Linked DNA regions of Homo sapiens: all the other regions are linked to region 3. Evidence: promoter capture Hi-C in 16 types of primary human blood cells and fetal thymus (Javierre and others, 2016). All regions are on one chromosome and are shown on one strand. Each heading gives the region's core, a stretch centred on a gene start or on the middle of the fragment in contact. The rest is flanking DNA. Distances are from core to core; before and after follow the strand shown.

The links. The method cuts DNA at HindIII sites, captures the fragments that hold promoters and counts their contacts. A CHiCAGO score of 5 or more calls a contact.
Region 1: a contact is called between the fragment with the promoter of CTH here and the fragment with the promoter of MSH4 in region 3, in 1 of 17 cell types (total CD4 T cells). The highest score is 6.8, in total CD4 T cells.
Region 2: a fragment that was not itself captured here is called in contact with the fragment with the promoter of MSH4 in region 3 in 1 of 17 cell types (total CD8 T cells); the score reaches 6.1 in total CD8 T cells.

What each region holds. Positions count from the first base shown.
Region 1 is chr1:70,409,818-70,412,517 of GRCh38, forward strand. CTH (cystathionine gamma-lyase) reads left to right here and starts at 1,451. Exons shown (of 12, transcript NM_001902.6): 1 at 1,451-1,766. The coding sequence starts at 1,599. RefSeq lists an enhancer at 1,022-1,281 and a silencer at 1,342-1,491. The HindIII fragment of the contact is 3,560 bases long and covers 253-2,700 here.
Region 2 is chr1:70,314,934-70,317,633 of GRCh38, forward strand. It overlaps ANKRD13C (ankyrin repeat domain 13C), which reads right to left. Exons shown (of 13, transcript NM_030816.5): 4 at 548-633. Among named protein-coding and RNA genes, the nearest start is that of ANKRD13C, 38 kb to the right of the region's middle. The HindIII fragment of the contact is 1,503 bases long and covers 612-2,114 here.
Region 3 is chr1:75,795,590-75,798,289 of GRCh38, forward strand. It overlaps MSH4 (mutS homolog 4), which reads left to right and starts at 1,293. Exons shown (of 20, transcript NM_002440.4): 1 at 1,293-1,640. The coding sequence starts at 1,397. The HindIII fragment of the contact is 6,934 bases long and covers 1-2,700 here.

The DNA of each region.
Region 1 (2,700 bases), core at 201-2,700, 5.4 Mb before region 3:
ACTCAGGGTTTGTCAGCAAATATTAGGAGGTAAAACTAATTGGAACTGTTTTAGACCCTTTTGGCCCCTAAATGCCATATCATATTACACAAAAATACCCACCTATAGTTATACATAAATATTGAGGTGAGTTGCAGTTGATGTTATATTTTTAAAAGAAAAATATTAATTAAATATGTATTAATATACATTAGTGTTTTGAAGTCTATCCATTTTTTCCCCCAGCCATACAAAGTTTGGTAGGATTCTAAAAGCTTGTAGGCCCTCAAGCACCACTCCTCTAGTGCTTAATGGGTTAAATGTCCCTAAAGCTAATTTGAAAAGCAAATTGCCTCATTCTTTCTCTTCATATCTTTCTTTCAAACTGTAAATTTTAAGAGCTGTTTATTCCTTATTCTCCTTGTTCTTAATTTGTTTAATAAAGTTTTAGATCTTTAGCGAATATTTTGCAACAACAGAAATATCCCCAAATTTCCTGGTGCTAGAAAACAGCCACAATAGTAAGTAGGTCAAGTCTGTATTGCTTAGGGAACAGGGAGATTTTTGTTTTAAAGCAGTGATTCTTCTGAGAGTAGGGCTCTGGGCGCAGGTGAGTGGTAAACAATCCTTTTTCCTGCAGGGATGTTGCTGTTGTGTAAAAGCAAAAGCATTTTGTGTAAGGATGTTAGGCTCCAGTAAGTATTTCAAAGCCACATTATCTTTCTCATTAGGGGGAGTTTCTCTCTGTACTTTAAAAGAAGATAATGATGCTTGAAAAAGCTCAAGATTGACTAACTTTTAGGAAGCTGCCAGAGTTGTGCATAGACGTCCTCACTACAGTAGCTTCGTTATGTCTTACGAACAATTTAACCTTCACTTCTAGTCATCGTTTCGTCATCGTAAGCACTGGGTCATTACAGAGTTCAGTGTACCTAAAACGCAAGCTGTGACTGATGAGAATCCAAGCTGCAAACTGGGCGGCTTGGGCAACTGTTTTCTTAACCACCCTCCACGTTGTGGCTTACGTCTTTTAGCACCGCCCTCAGGGCAAAGGATGGTGGTCAGAGGTAACTACCACAGTAAAAGAAGGCTATTTATGTGGTCTGTTTACAGTTACCCGGTTTCAACACTAAGCCAGCTTTCCGCCACGTCTCGGGCGAACCTCCGGCCTGAGGTCACAGAGACGCCCGGGTGGCTCTCAGGAGCCAGCATGGCAGCCTCCTCAGGACGGGTACTCAGGAATTTCGCCCGCAGGGACTAACACCACTTGGACCCAGGGACTCCAGCTTCACTCCGCTTTGTGCACTGGGTGGGGCGGTCGCGGTGACGTTTCAGGCAACGCCTCTGCTGTCAGCCAATAAGGAGCGGGAGACGCGTCGGGCCTGCGCTCAATGGGCCGCGCTGGTCCCGCCCCACTGTGATCGTGAGACTGCAGACCCGCTAATAAAATCCACCCCAACAATCGCTGTGTGCCGCTTTAGTGCGCTCGCCGTCGGCTCTACCTGCGTGCTTTAGCTCCTTCTCGCCTGATCCTTCTGTCTCTCCCAACCCCGGACACCCGGCTTCGACTGGTTATATCTTCGGTGTTCTTTTCCTCTCTTCTTCTTTCGCGGTTCAGCATGCAGGAAAAAGACGCCTCCTCACAAGGTTTCCTGCCACACTTCCAACATTTCGCCACGCAGGCGATCCATGTGGGCCAGGATCCAGAGCAATGGACCTCCAGGGCTGTAGTGCCCCCCATCTCACTGTCCACCACGTTCAAGCAAGGGGCGCCTGGCCAGCACTCGGTGAGCTGGGTCTGTCTGGGGCTGTCCACAGTTGGGCGGTAAAAGAGATACGGCTTATGAATTTGAAAGGCATGTAAGTAATTTATAATATGACTTATAAATTAGGAAGGCAACCGAAAGATGTTTCTACACTGTAATTCTTGCAGCACAGCTTTGTATCGGATGGTCCAGTGATCGTATTTCTTTTGATAAGCAGGACTGGAAGGAGCCGTTTGTCCAGCTTGCCATTTAGATTTGGCCTGAAATTCAGGTGATTTTGACAAATTTGCAATTAAAAATCGAAGGTCATAACTTTTTTGAGTTACCTTTAGCAGCATAAATTTTAAAGATGTAGTACGGAGTCAGCTTAAAAAATATTAAGGGTCTGATAACTTGACTAGAATTAAGATTGTTTCCAGTAGCTGTATGAATAGTTATTGAGTACCTACTATATGCCAAATACGTGCTCGTATATATCATGTGTATTACATGTATTGTCTCATCTAATCCTAACAACAACCCTAGTCTGAACCGAATTCTCATTTTTTCCCAATAAAGAAGCTGAGATTTAGGGAGTTAAGTAACTAGCCTTAGACTAGTAAGTATTGGAGATGGAATTCAAACTTTAGAAACTTGAGGTTGCTTTAGGAACCAACTCCTAGGCACTCAGCTACACTATGCTATCTCTAATAATGCTAGTAACAATTTAGCCTATTGCGTCATTTAAGCACTGTGGCTTAGTGATTAAGAACACAACTCATGACCGGGTGCAGTGGCTTACGCCTGTAATCCCAGCACTTTGGGAGGCTGAGGCGGGTGGATCACCTGAGGACAGGAGTTCGAGCCCAGCCTGGCCAACATGGTGAAACCCCATCTCTACTAAAAATAAATAAATTAGCTGGGCATGGTGGCGGGTAATCTCAGCTACTCGGGAAGCTGAGGCAGGAGAATCGCT
Region 2 (2,700 bases), core at 113-2,612, 5.5 Mb before region 3:
TTTTGTTACATAAAGAATATACAGGCCGGGCACGGTGGCTCACGCCTATAATCCCAGCACTCTAGGAGGCTGAGGCAGGCGGATTGCTTGAGCTCAGGAGTTTGATACCAGCCTGGGTAATATGGTGAAACCCCATCTCTACTAAAAATACAAAAAATTAGCTGGGCGACAGAGTGAGGCGCTGTCTCCAAAACAAACAAACAAAAAAAACTGCCACTTCTAGTAGCAATGGCTTTAGCTATAGAGAATCTTCTAATTCAAAGGCAAAGGAAAATTATTGCCATTAACTGTGACTTACCTCCTTTTTTTTTCTTTAGAGCTCTTATCTAATTTATTGAAAGTAATAAATCTTTATCTTCCTAGTTCAAACTGAGGTGCTTCTACTAAGATCACATTCATACACTAATTATTGCTTAATTTAAGCATGATTTTTACCATTTTTTGGCCCCTAATAAGTGAGAATTTAAGTTGTATTAAGAAAAAAATGCTTAAAACTACACTTATAATTACTTCCAAGGTGCAAAATTAACAAAGAAATATAGCTTACCTCTTTCAGGGCTTTTAATAATCGAGGTCGTTTTTCTTCAACACTTTCCCTGGATTGCTGCTTAAGCTTCCTCAAAAGAGCTGTAACTAAAGTTTAAATTTTAAAAATAACTAATTTAAATTTTCATCATGCAGTAAAAACACCACTGGCTTATTATACATATAGATAGATAATACATGTACACATATATGCACGTGCATGTATGTGTGTATGTGTATGTGTGTATCTACATCTACAATATATTTTGAAAGGCCAAAAATCAAAGAGCAATGTTTAAATTACTGAAGGCCTCTTGGAACAGTAAAAGAAGCTGAGACATAGAAGTCAGAGAACATGGGACCTATATAGATAGAATAAGTTAGTAAGTAAGTTTAATAAAACTGGTATGATCCCCAAAGAATAATGAGAAGAGATATTTCAACATCAACCTATACCATATTCACACTAGCTTTTACTAGTTTTTTAATTATCAGTAACGATTTACCTAACTGTGCCAAGATAACCAAACTCATTCAAATGATGCAATGTCCTAATAGAACACTGACCTCAAGGAAGATCTCAAAAACAACAGATCTCAAAAATCCCACTGGAAGCCACTTTTCTAAAAACATATAATTACCTGCAATTGTTACCAGGTGTTATCTGTTCTTTTACCACTGGAGGATATACCTTCACATACTACCAGCACAGTATAAAAAATACAAAAATGAATCTTATTGTACATGGAAAAAGAACTTCTGAATCTAAGAAAACCTAAAGGTCCTCCATAGTGTATTTTCAGTTACTGAGATTTAAGCACATTGCTGAAGTTCAAACCCCAGCTTTACCACTTAGTGGTTGTGGGTAAACTTGGACAAGTTACTACTTAATTTCTCTAAACTTCCTTTTTTTTTCCTCTCCTTTGTCAAGTAAGAATAGAAGTAAGGGCACAGTGGTCTGCACCTGTAGTCCCAGCTACTCAGGAGGTTAAGGTGAGAGGATCACTTGAGCTCAGGAGTTCGAGACCAGCCTGGGAAACATAGTAAGACCCCATCTCTATTAAAAAAAAAAAAAAAAATTAGCCAGGGCTTGATGGTGTGTACCTGTGGTCCTAGCTACTTGGGAGGCTGAGACAGGAGGACTGGTTGTGCCCAAGAGTTTGAGGCTGCAGTGAGCTATGACCACTGCACTCCAGCCTGGGTGACAGAGCAAGACACTGTGCCTGTAATTAACTAAATACAATTTTTATCTATTAGAATGAAGGTCTAAAATTCACTGGCAAAATCAATCAATTAATCCTTAATATTTACCAAAATAAGAAAAAATATTAGACTTGAATGAAATAAGCATAGGAAAAAATAAGAACATGGAAAAATGTGCATCGGGGAAAATATATACATATATACACGCTAGTTTCCTCCTGATTCTAACACATTTTTCATATACATACATATACATATGCGTTCTGAGGGCTTTTTAAAAATCAGTAAATTATTTTTACTATTTCACAGCATGCATTCTTATAAACCACTTCAAGTCCCATGTGGAACGCAGAAGCAGAAGGCGAATAAAAAAAGAAGGTAGTGAAAGCTTGGACTAGATTTTTTTTTTTTGTCCACATAGGTCCAAAATTAGGAAAAATCTAGGGAAGCATGTAAAAATAGTAGGAGCTATTCTTATTTTTAACCACAGGTCTAACTAAATTCCAATATATTTTAAAAAGCCAAAAATCAAAGAACAATGCTTAAATTACTGAAGGTGTCTCAAAATAATCAAAACTGAGACACAGAAATCGGAATGCAGGACCTAGTTTCAGTTCTACCATTTACTAGCTCGGTGACCTAAATCAATAATTCCCAAATACGAACCTACATTTCTGTGCCCAATTGTTTGAGTTTCCAATGATATACAGAAAATGAGAAAAAATGTGTACTAGAATGAGTTTTTTCTTAATAAATTTTTTTAAAGACTATTCTTCCTACTTTTGGTTTCAAATATCTTTTTTTTAAAAATAAAATGTGGATCACAAAAGACAGTAGTTATCGTTTTTATAAAGTTCTGATAGTCTAAGATGAAAAAGTTAGATTCCCTATATCAATCACCAGTAAAAAAAATTTTTCTGGTCTGTGAAATCCAAAAAGTCTGAGAATCAATGACTTAGATAATCATTTAAA
Region 3 (2,700 bases), core at 43-2,542:
CTCCCAAAGTGCTGGGATTACAGGCGTGAGCCACCACGCCTGGCCTAAAATGAGTACAATCACTCTAGGGGTTTACAGTTTTGGTGAAAGTGAGGTATTCTCTATTTTTAAATTTTATTTTTTAGAGACAGGGTCTTCCTTTCTTCCCCAGGCTGGGGCATAGTAGTGCAATCACAGCTCACTGTAACCTTAAACTCCTGGGCTCAAGCAGTCCTTCCACCTCAGCCTCCTGAGTACCAGGGTCTACAGGTACCTGCCACCATGCCCACTATGCCCAGCTGATTTCTTAATTTTGGGGACAGGCACTGTCTTCCCCAGGCTGGTCTCCGGAGGTGAAGTAATCCTCTGGCCTCAGTCTCCCAAAGTACTGGGATTACAGGGAGGAGCCATCGTGCCCGATCTGAAAATAAGGTTTTTTGATGGAAATTGAGATTTTTCTCAAGTATGTTTGGAATGCCCTGTGCAATAATCATTCCAAGAACAGAGATGTTCTTAAGGACTGTTGTCACTGCATGTGGGTAAACCGCTGTGCATAACTGGTTTATTGAGATACTCAACAGTGGCAGGATTTCAGTAGTGGTGTAAATTAATGTCTTCTAATAGCTTCTGTATGGCAGTATCCAGATAATTTCGTCATGTTTAATCCATGGATCTCTGGTAAGTTGGTACTATTGGCCTTATTTAAGGAATTTTCTAAAGGTCACCACTGCAAAGCTGGAGTTTGAACTTCTAGTGTGCCATTAACTGATTTATATGTTAGAAACCACAGTACTAGAAATTGGTAGATGGGGAATTGTTAACTGAGAGATCTTACCCAGTCAGTCTTTCCCTGTTTCCTACTCTACTATGCACACAGCCATGTGCATACTATCTTTTGATAATATAACTATCTTTCCTATATTTGGTCACAAGATCAACCTTAGGTGGGTTATGCTGTGTGAGCATTACACGTTCTCATTGTGTCAAAGGCACTGGGTGTACTGTGTTGGGTGGTTTCTACATTTAAAGATAAGCTAGTGTGCTTGGACGTGTGGGAAATGCATGTAACATTTGCAATAAGGGAGATTGGGTGCTGTGAGAATAATGGGGCTAACAAATCGGGTGGTCATTGATGGGCCTTGCAGAGTTCTGGTCAGTCTGATACCTGCAGGCTGAGGATGTTCCAGTGAGGTTCATGTGGAAAGTGATGGGTTTGGGAATGGCTGGAAGCAGGGTCATAGACCTGAAGTACGTGAATCCATGTGGAAAGCTGAGCCTGCCTGCGCCTGCGCAGTGCAGCTTAGTGCGTCGGCGCGCAGTTCTCCCGCCCGTTTCAGCGGCGCAGCTTCTGTAGTTGGGCTACTGGAGGGGTCGCTCAGAAACCTCATACTTCTCGGGTCAGGGAAGGTTTGGGAGGATGCTGAGGCCTGAGATCTCATCAACCTCGCCTTCTGCCCCGGCGGTTTCCCCGTCGTCGGGAGAAACCCGCTCACCTCAGGGTCCCCGCTACAATTTCGGACTCCAGGAGACTCCACAGAGCCGCCCTTCGGTCCAGGTGGTCTCTGCATCCACCTGTCCTGGCACGTCAGGAGCTGCGGGCGACCGGAGCAGCAGCAGCAGCAGCCTTCCCTGCCCCGCGCCAAACTCCCGGCCAGCTCAAGGCAAGGAGTGATTGGGTGGAGGAGTCTCCTTGAGGCTAGAGGCCGGCAGTTCATGGAGGCTCGGGGGCACGTGGGTGGTGGTTACCACAGTGAAGTTGTGATTTGGTTGGGGCGTGAGATCTGAGTGCCCTGGGAATTTGGTGAGTCTGGGTGATTAGAAGCCTTGACTTTTCAAATTGGTTCTATTGCAAGACCTTGACTGTGGATGGCTCAGTTCTGAGAAAGGCTGAAGTATCCCATATAACGTCCCTCACAGTGTCTGACAAATGACAGTTTGTGCGTGAGTTTGCTGATAGAAGTTGTGAGCTGATCTTTGGCTGCTGAATTTAATTCTCCAAATCCTGCTAAGGTGGGATAAAATAGATTAAATTGAACATTTCATCTAATTCAGGGAAAATAATATGTTTAGTATTAAAAGAGTGGGCTGGGCGGTGGCTGACGCCTGTAATCCCAGCACTTTGGGAAACCAGGGTGGGCGGATCACTTGAGGCCGGGAGTTCCACACCAGCCTGGCCAACATGGTGAACCTCCCACCCCCATCCCCTATCTCTACTAAAAGTACAAAAATTATCTGGGTGTGGTGGCACGTGACTGTGGTCCCAGCTACTCAGGAGGTTGAGGTGGGAGGATGGCGAGTCCGGGAGGTCGAGGCTGCCGTGAGCTGAGATTGCGCCACTGCATTTCAGCCTGGGTGACACAGTGAGACCCTGACTCAAAACAAACAAACAAAAAAGATGCATGTCCTTCAAATCATTTATTATTTTGTTAGTCTCTATTCATGACAAAGCATCACCATTTTTCACACACGATTGCAACACAATGGTAAAGTAACAAATACCAAATCCAATGGTCATTTTTCAGTTCATCTCATGTGACCTTTCTGCTGTATTTAATGTTCTTAATTTCTTTATTTTTAGAAACAGAGTCTCGCTATGCTGCCCATGCTGGTCTCAAACTCCTGGTCTCAAGTGCTCCTGCCTCGGTCTGCCCAAGCATTGGGATTACAGGCATGAGCCACTGCTGCCTGGCCTATGTTTAATGTTCTTGACTGGTCTTCTCT